2 separate regions of the Homo sapiens genome follow, and region 2 is linked to region 1. The links are contacts of gene promoters, found by promoter capture Hi-C in human tissues and cell types (Jung and others, 2019). All regions are on one chromosome and are shown on one strand. Each heading gives the region's core, a stretch centred on a gene start or on the middle of the fragment in contact. The rest is flanking DNA. Distances are from core to core; before and after follow the strand shown.

Region 1 (6,812 bases), core at 2,266-4,765:
GCAGTCTTTAGTCACTACACCTTCTTTCACAATAACTGAGACTAGCTAACACCCTCCCAGAAATCAAATAGAATTGTTCCAACTTATCAGAGGAAATGAATAAGGGAATGGGTAAAACATAATAAGGATGCAGGAGAGCTGGGAACCTTTATATCATATAGAAAAGTCTTCATAGTGAGATATCTGTAGAATAAAGCTAAAGTAAAAAAAAATCTAAGTCATCAATTTTTTATAGTACATGCTGTACTTCTGGGTCATTGTCCAGGTGTGCTCTCAATACTTAAGAATACCTCTTTGATTTTATTAAAAATACCACAAAGAAAAGTCCTCATAGATTTTGAACTCCATTCTAAACCAGTGGATGGCCACAAAGGAAGAAATACCTGTTTTATTTGTTCCTCTCAGGTACACATAAAACTACGGCATTTACCTTACCTTCTCAAAAAAGGCAAAATATATAACTTTTAGAAAGCTTCATCTTCTGTCTCATCTTCTGAAACTGACAGGTTTTTCCCTTTCAAATACTGATCCTTTGCTCATACAGCTTTCTTTACATTACCTTTTTGTGAAATCTTAGATAAGTTGATAGAACAACAATTTCAAGTTCAAAATATTATCACATTCAAATTCAATCTAGTAATTGTGTAAAATACTGAGGAAGATAAAAAGAGGAATAAATATAGTACTTCCTCAAAGACCCTGTAACAGATCTGTAAGAAAATTATTATGCATCCCTCAATATCTGCAAGAGACAGGGAAAAAAAGAAAATTACAGTGCAAAACATATAGTAGGCTTCTGCTTGTTTGAGACATCGCCTAGGTTGGCCGGGCGCAGTGCTCATGCCTGTAATCCCAACACTTTGGGGAGGCCGAGGCGTGTGGATCACGAGGTCAGGAGTTCGAGACCAGTCTGACCAACCTGCTGAAACCCCGTCTCTACTAAAAATACAAAAAACATTAACTGGGAATGGTAGTGTGTACCTGCAATCCCAACTACTCAGGAGGCTGAGGCAGGAGAATCGCTTGAACCCAGGAGGCAGAGGTTGCAGTGAGCAGAGATGGAGCCACTGCATTCCAGTGGTGTGATCTCGGCTTACTGCAACCTTCGCCTCCCAGTTCAAGCGATTCTCAAGCGATTCTCGTGCCTCAGCCTCTGGAGTAGCTGGGACTACAGGCATGTACCACCATGTCTGGCTAATTTGGTTCTCATGCCTCAGCCTCTCAAGTAGCTAGAACTACAGGTGTGCACCACCACACCTGGCTAATTCTTGTATTTTTAGTAGAGACGGGGTTTCATTATGTTGGCCAGGATGGTCTAGAACTCCTGACCTCAGGTGATCCGCCCACCTCGGCCTCTCAAAGTGCTAAAGTGCTAGGATTACAGGCGTGAACCACCAGGCCCGGCTGCAGAATATATTGCTACAAAAAGGGTACAATAACTCAAGAGTACACAGAAGAGAATGTATCAACCTGAATGTGAGAATCTGACAAGTAGAAAGTGACTCAGAACAAAAATATTCAATCTTTAAGAATTCTTAATTACACAGCTTCACCTTACACTCCCAAACTGTAGATCATGTTCCAATTAACACAGCTGGGCTCTTTTTTCAGACACCCCATCTTGTCCCCACTTGAAGCAAAATTTTATTTAAAGTAAAATTTGCCTACTGTTTCTAGAGAGTTAACAAAAATCAAAGTACCAGCCTGCAAACCACCGCAAATTGAATGAAACTGCTGGTAATAAAAAAAGAAAAATTTGACTGCTTCCAGGTTTTTAGTAAGTTAACTCTGAAAGATAACTTAAAATAACTTACTGGGAATTTTTCTTATATTTAGGAGCTGAAAGATGCAGTGATAATAAGGAAAACGAATCTGAGAAATTTAAAGAAGCCAGCTTTGTTGAAAACCAAGTGGCCACTTGCCAACACTTCTTTATGCACGTATGACCAAAGATGATTCTAGGCAGACTCACAGACCACAAAGGCTCTTTATCAAATCCCAAATTAAGAAAGTTCTCATAAATATTTCAATTTTGATAAGTTAAAGACCAGTTAAGTTTTAAAAAGCACTTTATGAAGTGCAGAATCAATACAGAAACGAAGCTTTGCGCTTTTCATATCTGAGCCCGAAAAACAGCACACATTTTATGTTACATTTACAGTCTATTCACAGACACCTATAGCTTAGATTCCATCAAGAAAAACACTGGTCAATGGAAAAGTGACTGGCCTTAGTATAAAATTTCCATGTGGCCAGCAGGGAAGAAACCGCATAATTCTGAATTACAACTGACAAAACTACGAGAACCCTAAATCGAACTCTTCGCCTTGAACTCCATATACAAACATTTCAGATTCGTACTTCCACTTCCTGAAAATAATACTGTTTGTAAACGAAAAGGCAATAAGGTTACTCCCAAAACTCCTGTACTCCATGATCCATCCTCAAAGAGTGGAAGGAACAGCAAAGTAGAAGGAACAAAGCACTGACGTCAATTACGAGATTAACCCCAAGCACAGGCAGCTGGAGGAAAGGCCTAAACATCAATATCCACGCACAAGCTACTGGGATAACTAGGTAACAGACCGATTCAGAAGTTGTAGGGGAGGGTATTCGAGTATTATACCCCCACGTTCCCATTTTTAGTCAATCCCCTTCGCAAGTCGAAGGCGGAAATTTTTCCTTCTTTTTTTTTTTTTTTTGCGGGGGTGGGGGTGTGGGAGAGGTGCGCAGGATCGCGAGAAGGAAAGCGAGAACTAGCTGGGTAATGTTAGCCAGAATCTGGGCCTATTTTCTCTTTAATTAGACATAATTTGAAATTGAGGAGGATATGAAAAAGTAACAAATCAGCCGATGGAACGTCTGAGGAAAGAAAGAGGAAAGGAGAAACACTAAACGGATGGATTTCTGGGAATTTTTGTTAGGATTGGGTTAGCTTTTTTTATTTTCTTATCTTTGCGGGAAGGTGGTGGGGTGGGACGCGCAGATGAGAGGAGGGGTGACGCCTGATTGAGCAGCCCCAGCCCGGAGGGTCTCCCCGAGGCTCCCCGCAGAACTTGCGGGCCCCCACCCCCACCCGGCCCCGGCCACAACCCCCGCGGCCCGGCCCGGCCCTGGGTCAGTCTGTCGGCCCTTCTTACCTCCAGTCCCGGCTCCGCTAGGCCCGAACCATCTCCTGGCTGCGGCAGTGGCGGCGCCGGGCCTGCACCTTCACCGGACGCGCATTCGAGCCCGCCCAGGGGGCGGTGACAGGCTGCCAAGGGCGAGGGGCTCCGGGAGGCGGCGGGGGTTCCGGAGGCCTCGACAAACGAAGGCGGCGTCGGCGGCGGCGGCAGCGATGCGCCTCACACGGAACAGGCGTAGGCCCCGCACCGCTCCATGACGGTCGGGCCCGGGCTGGGACAGCTGACTGAGGCGGCGGGGGCGGGTTAACGAAGACCTGGCACCAGGATCCCCGCCCCGTCCGCTGGCGGCGGCGACGGCAGCTGGACTCCTGCAGCCAGGGCTGTGACTGACGCAGCGGCCGTGCCACCATGTGACCAAGACCGGGCGGGTGCGGGGCGTCACGTGATGCCTCTGCGCCCCTCCCCGCTGGGGGAGTAGGGGGCGGGGGTCTGTGGGCCGGCTGGGCCGGGAGGCGACGCCCGGGGTGGTGACGTTCCCGGCTGTGGGGTCTGATGACCCGGGCCAGGCAAAGGACCCGCCCGAGCGGTATAGGCCTGAGCCTCTGGGCACTGCGGCCGCGTCCGGCAGGGCTGCCACGGCAGTACAGGGCCTGCACATCCGGGAGCTCACGCCCTCCTGCGCGTAGCCCGCTAGTGAGGTTCCGAAGGGCGGGGCCGGGCCGAACCGGATATGCCGGTTCTGGGGCTCAGGTGACAAACCCAGGCCTTCCGCCCCTCGCCTCTGGTGGGGATCCGGCCCAACCCGGAGCTTCCTAGACTTGCTTCCAGGTGTCGAAGCCTCGAGTCCTCAAGAGGTCCAGCAAAAAGGCAAAGGACGCAGGAGGCTGTTCGGTATTTCCAGTAAACTTACCCTAAGAAGCCAAACCGTCCCTCTTTCTTCGTCATTTAAACATCTTCTGCCACTAATGTTTTCCTTTTCATTTATTTATTGAGATAGATCTCGCTGTTGTCGCCCAGGCTGGAGTACAATGGCGGGATCTCGGCTCACTGCAACCTCCGCCTCCCGAGTTCAAGCGATTCTAGTACCTCAGCCTCCGGAGTAGCTGGGATTAAAGGGGGGAGCCACCACCTACGGCTAATTTTTGTATTTTTAATAGAGACACGGTTTCACCATGTTGGCCAGGCTGGTCTCGAACTCCTGACCTCAACCAATCCACCCGCCTGGGCCTCCCAAAGTGTTGGGATTACAGGCGTGAGCCACCGCACCCGGCCCACTAATGTTTTTCTTCAGCATATCATTCTGAACACTTCTTTCACCTCTAAACATCTACTATTTCTTTTAAGCTTCACTCTTTATATGCATTTTCTCTATAGAGCTATATAAATTAGGAAATGTCTTAATAGAAAACTCAAAACATGACAGAATAAAAAATAATTGATTCTCCCATCTCTGTCTGTTAGCTGTTTCAGTCCTGGAAGGCAATCACTTAGCATTTAATAATGTATCTTTCCCTACATATTTGTAAGTAATACATTAAAATATAGGGATACTTCTTTTTACACAAAAGGTAACACACTATATACGCTGTTCAGTCCTTTTTTTCTCACTTCAAATATCTTGGATAGGCTGGGCACAGTGGCTCAGGCCTATGATCCCAACACTTTAGGAGGCCGAGGGGGGCTGATCGCTTGAGACCAGGAGTTTGAGACCAACCCCGGCAACATGGCAAAACCCCATCCCTATGAAAAATACAAAAATTAGCCGGGCGTGGTGGTGCATGCGTATAGTCCCACCTACTCTGGAGACTGAGGTGGGAGGATCACTTGAGCCTAGGAGGTCGGTGCTGCAGTGAGCCGGGAGCTTGCCATCCAGCCTGGATGAGAGTGAGACCCTGTCTCAAAAAAAGAAAAAAGAAAAAAATGTCTTGGACATCCTGCCATATCAGTATATAATGAACTACCTTTTTCTTCCTAGAGGCAGAATAATATTCCACTTATGCAAACATCCTAATTTATTTAACCAATCCCCTACAGGTGGATATTCCGCTTGTTGCCAAGCCATTACTATTACATGCTAAGCTGCAATGAATAACCTCATACAAGACAGGGCAACATAGTGAGACCCCATCTCTACAAAAAATAAAAAATTAGCCGTTTGTGGTGGCACAGGCTTGTGGTCCTAACTACTAGAGAGGCTGAGGTGGGAGAATCGTTTGTACCCAGGAGATGAAGGCTGCAATGAGCCCTAATCGCACCACTGCACTCCAGTCTCAGTGACAGAGCAAGACCCTGTCTCAAAAAAGTTAAAATAATTAAAAACGAAAAACAACTCCATATAATGAGCAAATTATACCTGTATGATAAATCCTTAGCCTGGAATCTTTAGATCAAAAGGATTTTTAATTTTGATAGATATTACCAAATTATCCTACACAGAAATTGTGCCTATTTCATTTACTTGCTTTCAAATTCTGCTTAAGAAGATTTACAAGGCTGTATAGGTTGGAGGGTTGAGGGGATGGAGAGTGGCAAAAGAAAAGAATATTTGTCACTTTACACCGTAATAATTTTTTTTTTTTGAGACAGAGTCTCGCTCTGTCGCCCAGGCTGGAGTGCAGTGGCGCCATCTCGGCTCACTGCAAGCTCTGCCTCCCAGGTTCACGCCATTCTCCTGCCTCAGCCTCCCCAGTAGCTGGGACTACAAGTGCCCGCCACTACGCCCGGCTAATTTTTTTGTATTTTTAGTAGAGATGGGGTTTCACCGTGTTAGCCAGAATGGTCTCGATCTTCTGACCTCGTGATCCACCCGCCTCGGGCTACCAAAGTGCTGGGATTACAGGCGTGAGCCACCACTCCCGGCCACACCATAATAATTTTGATTAAAGATGAGTATTAAGGTGCAAATTGAAAATATGTAACAAACTTTAAGTTTCCTTGCTTATTCTGAAGTAAATGTTATTTGGCTAACGCAAATAATAATATGCTTTTGTTCCATAAAGGATAGTGATACTTTTTCAATACAAAATGAAACCTTATTTAAAAACCAAAAAGGGGAGGAATGGCCAGTATAGCCTTTTATTTGGCATTATTCTGCAAATAAGAAGTTTCCGGCCAGGTGTGGTGGCTCATGCTTGTAATCCCAGCACTTTGGGAGGCCAAGGCAGGCAGATCACCTGAGGTCGGGAGTTCCAGACCAGCCTGACCAACATGGGGAAACCCAGTCTCTACTAAAAATACTAAAATTAGCTGGGCGTGGTGGCCAGTGCCTATAATCCCAGCTACTCAGGAGGCTGAGGCAGGAGAATCACTTGAATCCAGGAGGCCGAGGTTGTGGTGAGCCAAAACCTTGCTGTTGCACTCCACCGTGGGCAGCAAGAGCAAAACTCCATCTCAAAAAAAAAGTTTCCTCTGTTTCAGCAAATAAAAGAAAAAGTTCCTAAAATTATTTCTAAGTTTTTAATATTTTAATATTGTATCATTTTGTTTAAGAAGTTACATCTGTTTTAACAAAGTGAATGTTCTGTCTCTAACTTCATGTTCTAGAACAGTGTAAGACTACTGTGCAGAATGGAGAAATTGCAGAAAATGACGTACCATAAAACTAAAAGAGAAACAAAGGCCGGGCACGGTGGTTCATGCCTGTAATCCCAGCACTTTGGGAGGCTGAGGTACGTGGATCACAAGGTC
Region 2 (6,812 bases), core at 1,332-3,831, 530 kb before region 1:
ATTGCTTCCCATGCCCTAAAGATCGTCTCCCCCAGACTTCATGAAACATCAGTTTACTCTGGTATTTTTCCCAATCAGCAACCATTTAAAAAGAGCAAACACTAGAAGTAAATGCTTTCAAATAAATCGTGAGAGGTAACTGATGCTGGTCTGGATTGAGAAAGGCACAATAACTATTCAAAATAGGCCTATGAACTTCAGAAGCCTGTGGAATCCACACTTGCCGTGTCCTCTGCACTTTCCTTCTCTGTGCCTTCTGAAGGGTGGTGGCATTGACATCACCATCTGTGGGAGCTCACATAAAGTCCTGAATCTGCCAAAAGACATAACTTGAGGTTGCCTAACATCACCCCCATGTAGTATCCAAACACTGGTCCTTATTTTAGTGGCTGGTTTTCATGTTTAATTTGTGATACCCCAAGAATACGACAGAGGTTCTTTTTTTTTTTTTAAGTTCTGAAACTGCTGATTCAGTTTGCATGAGGATATTACTTTTTTAAAGGAACTTTCAAAAACACCTAAAATTTAATTTTAGCCATAGTTTAGTTAGAGAATCCCTGGGTACAGAATTTTTCTCTACTTCCCAGCATTTACAGAATCTGATGTCACTTGGGAGTTGGAGGGAGACTTTGGGGGAACAGCCAGGAAGTGGCCCTTGGGTCCTTGAGCCATCTAGTTGGGGAGAAAGGGCCATTTTTACCCTGAAACTCTGTTCTGTTCATGTGCATTGTCCCAAGGTTCTTATGAAGACAGTCGGTCCTTATGAAGACAGTCAGTTCTTGACTGTCTTCATGACTTGTCTGGCCAGCTCTTCAATACCTTAGCCAGACAAGACCATAAAAGGCCACCTGCTTTACTTATATTTGACTGTTGGTAAGGTTGACCCTGAAATCTTTTACATTTGTATTTCTTTTGATAATTTTGTTCACATGTATGTTAGAAACTGCTCATTGCTCTACAGTATCCATTCCCTCTTTCTTAGTAACAAAACCAATTTTTTGCTGATCCCTTTTCCACCCAGCTGAAAACTACGTTCCCCTGGCAATTTTGCAGCAAAGTGTGATCATGTGGCTGGGTTCCGGACAATGGATGCAAGTGGGTGTCATATGGGACTTCGAAGCCAGCTCCTTAACAGGAGGGGGTGTGCCCTTTATTCACCCTCCTTTCTCCATCCTACTTTCTTAAATGAGGATGTGGTGACTATCACTCTAGCAACTACCACAAGACATGAGAATGAGAGCTGCACTTTAGGAATAGGGGCAGGATGAGCCAGAAGAAGCGTAGGTCCCTGGTGACACCTGAAGTCACCAAACCAGCCCTGAACTGATCATTTCTAGACCTTTTTTTTCAGTGAGAGAAAGAAAGAAAATCCCATCTTGCTTAAGCCACTATTGTTTTCTGTTTTATGTAACTGAACAAAATTCTAACCAATACAAAATAATGTTTATAATACACAATACCATAATCAATGCTGTTTTTCTTTTTCTTTCTTTTTTTAAGAGACAGGGCCTTGCTTTGTCAACCAGACTGGAGCGCAGTGGCACAATCATAGCTCACTGCAGCCTCGAACTCCTGGGCTCAAGCAATCCTTTTACCTCAGCCTCCAGAGTAGCTAGAACTACAAGTGTGCACCACCATACCTGGCTAACTTATTTTTTATAGAGATGGGATCTTGCTGTGTTACCCAAGCTGGCCTTGAACTCCTGGGCTCAAGCAATCCTCCCACCTTGGCCCCCTGAGTAGATGGGATTACAGGCACATACCACCATGCCCAGCTCCAGTGCTGTTTTTCTTTGGAGAGTGTATTTTTATTACTGATTACAAACTCATCTGTGTTTTTTGGGTTTTGTTGTTGTTGTTGTTTTGTTTTTTGCTTTTTTTTTTTATATGAAGTCTCACTCTGTCTCCTTGGCTGGAGTGCAGTGGTGCAATCTCAGCTCATTGCAAACTCTGCCTCCTCAATTCCAGCGATTCTCCTTCCTTAACCTCCTGAGTAGCTGGCATTACAGGCGCAAGCCTCCATGCCCAGCTAAATTTTTGTATTTTAGTAGAGACACGGTTTCACCATGTTGCCCAAGCTGGTCTCAAACTCCTGACCTCAAGTGATCCACCCATGCTGGCCTCTCAAAGTGCTGGGATTACAGGCATGAGCCACACCCAACCATATGTTTTTTATATATGAAGGACATGTCCTTTCTGTCAGTGTTGCTGTAAATATAATTCCTTGTTTTTGCTTGTCTTTTGATTTTGTTTATGAGTTCTGTTTTTAAAGTCTTGGTGTTTGTTTTTAATATGGCTAAAATTTCTTTAAAATGCTGTTTGCTCTTTTATCCAAAATTCTTCCCCCCTTAGATAAGTATTCACCAATATTTTTCTGGTTTTTCAATGACTTCACTGTTTACAATTAGCGTTTTAGTCCATTGGTGAGTACTGTTGGTAAGTTTTTAATCTTTTGTAGGTCATAAGTGTTTAGGCCTAAATACTCTCCTGAGTTCTAAAGCAGGAGCCAGCGTCACCTCTTGTTTATACACCCTGTCCTGGCCTGAGCCTCCTGAAGGCTGGCACATTCAGCACAGACCCCTCTCACTCCTACTTCCCACCCACCGCCCTTCTGTGGGTCACCTGCCCACTACTCAAGATAGCACTCTTGGCTTCTTCTGGAACTTCTGTCTTCACCACCCTGTGTTCGGCTCTATTCCAACTCATCTCTAATTTCTCTTTACCGAGACCAGGCCGCTGACAGCCCTCTCAACGATTCTAGGAGATTTTTGTTATTTCTTCTCTGGAAATACAATATAAAGAATTTTTATATGGTTTTCCAAGTAGATATGAAGCTTTTTAAATTAAAATTTTGTGTTCTGATAAGAGAAATGAACCATCTTCATCATTTTAAGAAGTAGAAAATATATTATAGAAAAGCACCAAAGAAAATAAAAACAACATAGAAAGTAAAAAGTGAAAGCCCTACCACCTTCAAGAGGTGACCTCTGTCAACAGTTGATATATCTCTTTCCAGACTTATTTATACAAACAAATGTGGATCTTTATAAATATACGTATGCACAGCTTTGTTCATGAAAATGGGAGCATGCTATATACTTTGTACAGCAACTGGCTTTTTTTTTTTTTTTTTTTTTGAGACAGAGTCTCACTCTGTTGCCCAGGCTGGAGTGCAGTGACACAATCTTGGCTCACTGCAACCTCCACCTCCCAGGTTCAAGCGATTCTCCAGCCTCAGCCTCCCAAGTAGCTGGGATTACAGGCACCCGCCACTACGCCCAACTAATTTTTGTATTTTTAGTAGAGACAAGGTTGCACCATGTTGGCCAGGCTGGTCTCAAACTCCTGACCTCAGGTGATCCACCCGCCTCAGTCTCCCAAAGTGCTGGGATTACAGGCGTGAGCCACCACTCCCGGCTAGCAACCGGCTTTTTACAAATAGCAGTCTATTGTGTATATTTCTCTATGACAGTACATAGAGACCTGCTGTCTTCTTTTTAAAGGCTGCTTGGTATGTATTCCACCACGTAGATGTACTGCTAGTTCATCTCCTCCCCTACAGATGACCACAAAGTTTTTCAATGTCCTGATAATATTTATAGGCCACTACATCCTCATTTTTATACTTTTATGCATTTGTGCTAGTGTTTCTATAAAATAGATTTCTACAATTGAGACTGTTGAGTTAAAGGGTATATACATAGTAAGTTGTATATACTTCCAGTTGCCCCTTGTTGAAACCTTGTACCAATCAGTGCAGTGTCCTTTTAAATGGTCTTTTCATTGCCTGTTGCTTCCCTGTCTCCCCACCCCCCGGCTCTTCACCCTAGTGCTAGAATTGCTTTTATGAAACTCAGATCTGACCATGGCTTGCCCTGTTTAAAATACCTCAGTGGCTCCTCACTGTCAGCAAAACCCAAACATTCATCTAAGCTCCTTCTCAGTTGGAGTCCTCTGGGAAGCAGACACCAAAACAGAATGAAAAGTGCAGAAGATTTATTGGGGGTAAGAAGAGCTAATGCCTATGAAAGATAAAGGAGAAAGGAGCAGAAGTACGGAGAGAAAAGACAGCTTTCAGACTGCAGTCCAGATCTAACTCTGGGACGCAAGAGAGGGAAGGATAATTCTGTTGAAAGAGCATCAGACTGTGATGCGGCTGTAAGAGTGTCTCAACGAGCCCAGTGGGGAGTTCCAGCCAAAGATTGCCCAGGAGAAGAGTCGCACTTTGGGCAGAAATGGACAGGCCCGAGCAACCCTGCCATGTTCTGTCATTGGCTGGGGGCCACCCAGGAGGCAACATGGTCTGACTTGAATGGTGTGGATCCGAGGCTGCAGCCTGTCAGCTGTCTGCACTCCATGCAACAGGTCCTTTGAATGGCATGTGTTCGTGGCTGCCATAAACTGCAGCCTGCCTTTTAGCCTTACCTCCTTTGCTCTTGCTCTCTGACCCCGTGTTCTGGCAACACTGGCCTGACTACACGCCGTATCACATACAACCAACTGCCCATACCAACCCCAACCCTGACCTTTGCTCACTCAGTTCTTTCTGCCTGGAATGCCACTCCTTCCCAGTTATACCCAGCAAAATCCTAATGTGCTTTCAAGGCCCAACTTAAAAATCATCTTCTCTGGTTGACCTCACCATGTAGAATTAATTGTTCCTTGCTCCTATGGTGCTATGTGTATATTAGTACTTCCCAGATTGGAGTATTCTTAGCTGTTTTTTTCTCAGATTTTTGCCTCCTCTAAACCTAGCAAAACGTCAGCACACAGTAAATGTTGACTGAGCTGTTTCCCTGCTCCTCGCAAAGCACCTTGAGGTTGCAGAATTCCAACTCCCGGAATGGTTGGAAGCACACAGTACATGGTCAATAAGTGTTTGTTGACTTGTCTGGGACCTAGTATTGGTGGGGTGAGGTGGGCAGAAGGCTGCTGAGGGTGGGTATTTACTGTTGTTGGGGCTCACCAGTCTGGGGCCACATTGGAGTTTTAAGACTAGAGCATGTCTTCCCCTGTTTTTATTTTTCTCCATGATTTGGAAAGACCCCAGAGGTGGGTTTTTTTTTTTTTAAGTAATCACTTTATTGTCTCTGGTCAACAAATGAGAACTTTTATGGGTCTTCCCTTTTTCAACCACATTTTCATGAGTTGGGATTTTGCATTTCTTCATTACCCATTCTCCTTATGGGTAAAAGAAGAGCCATTATGATACCTAGGATGAGAGCTCCAGGTCAGATGGGTAATCATTTTCAGACTGGAGGCTCATGGGATACAGGGAATTGGGAAGGTAGAAATGATATTTTTCCTCTTCCTCTTTCCCACATCCACCAATTAAAGAACTTCCCTGGGAGTGGACCTGTGGGAAGTGGCTAAGGGTTTCCGGGGTGGGTACAGCAGGGAGTGACATCAGGGCGTGGTGGGGATGAGGTGGGTGGAGAGGACAAAGAGGGACTCTCCACCTTCCTTTGGATCTATGAGGATGTTCCTTGGCCACTGTCCCTCAGCAGAAGGAGGCTAGAGCTGAGGTGGCCACACCCTCCACTCATTTTCAATCCCTTCAAACTGTCAGGCCCTCAGAGGAAACCCTAGGGTTTCCCCACCAAGATGTAAGGGCTGTGTGCCTCTGCCTTCTCTCTTAGGGTGGTCAGCACAGGTGGAAGCAGGGAGGTACTGGGCTGAGGCTTCGGTTGTCAGTGCTAGCTTGACAGCAGTTAAGAATTTTTTTTGTTTTGTTTTTTAAAATTTATTTTTCTGTAATTTTTAATGTAGTTAAAATTTATACATAATTCACACCACTTCAATTTATACATATTGAAACATCACTATGTATCCCATAAACGTATAATTATTATGTATTATCATTGTCTGGGACCTCATATTGTGTGTTATAATGATTATACATATTTACAAGGTACATAATGATGTTTCAATACATATTATGTATAGTGATCACATCAGGGTAATTAGCATATCCACCATCTCAAATGTTTGTCATCTCTTTGTGTTGGGAACAGTCACTATCCTCCTCCTAGCTATTAGCAGTGGTTAGGGATTTTGGAAGTTGTGTAGTGTGAAGAAGCCTGTGGGCCAGAGGTTCTTATCACAGACTCTTTCTTCTTCAGGAGCTATGAACCATCCTTCCCCAAAGTGTTATCAAACTGTGCCTTTGGTGGAGGCATAGCTCTCGTCGGATTCTTTTTTGCCAGAAAGATCTGTGAACGAAACTGCTACTATGTTAACTCAGAGAACAGCCTCCCTAATAAAGAAGAGGATGTGTTCCTACAAGAGCCAGGTTTTAGTTGGATTGTTAGTGTGAGTGATGAAGACCTCAGAATGGCTCTAGAAAGAAGCCCAGATCTCAGCTTTGCACTGTGATTGTCCCCCAGCAACTTTGCATTCCCCCTGTATGGGAATAGGGACCTGTGGATTCTGTTGCCATAGATCCAGAGATTGGACCTAGGAAAGTGAGACCAGGTGGTCTGACACCTACCTCCAGAGCGGACAACCCAGAGACAGAGCAGGCCCCTGCAGGTGTAGGGGCTGGCGGCGAGAAGACAGCTATGTTTACCCTTGTAGACTAGGAATATCAGTATGAATAGACTAGTCCTAGGCTTTGAAATGAATTTTAGTGTTCATTATTATTTGGTCATTCTAAAAACCCCTATTTTGAACCTCCACTTCAGAGAAATAGTTCTGATGTTCTCAGAAAATGTCAGGAGTGTATGGTGCACAGCAGTGGACAACAAAGGAAGAGAAAACCAGAAAAGGAGAAAAGTGAATAAAAAGAAACTTCTCAAATTAGAGCAAAATAC

What was found. Contacts are between HindIII fragments. The study calls those that stand out against the background at their distance.
Region 2: a fragment that was not itself captured here is called in contact with the fragment with the promoter of AFF4 in region 1 in 1 of the 25 tissues and cell types used here (hippocampus).

Annotation. Positions count from the first base shown.
Region 1 is chr5:132,960,119-132,966,930 of GRCh38, forward strand. It overlaps AFF4 (ALF transcription elongation factor 4), which reads right to left and starts at 3,516. Exons shown (of 21, transcript NM_014423.4): 1 at 3,141-3,516. AFF4-DT (AFF4 divergent transcript) reads left to right here and starts at 3,694. Exons shown (of 2, transcript NR_186175.1): 1 at 3,694-4,016; 2 at 4,123-4,572. RefSeq lists an enhancer at 543-1,044 and a silencer at 2,971-3,810. The HindIII fragment of the contact is 9,387 bases long and covers 1,288-6,812 here.
Region 2 is chr5:132,430,663-132,437,474 of GRCh38, forward strand. The region is part of intron 2 of CARINH (colitis associated IRF1 antisense regulator of intestinal homeostasis); the gene reads left to right. Among named protein-coding and RNA genes, the nearest start is that of LINC02863, 7.4 kb to the left of the region's middle. The HindIII fragment of the contact is 9,906 bases long and covers 1-6,812 here.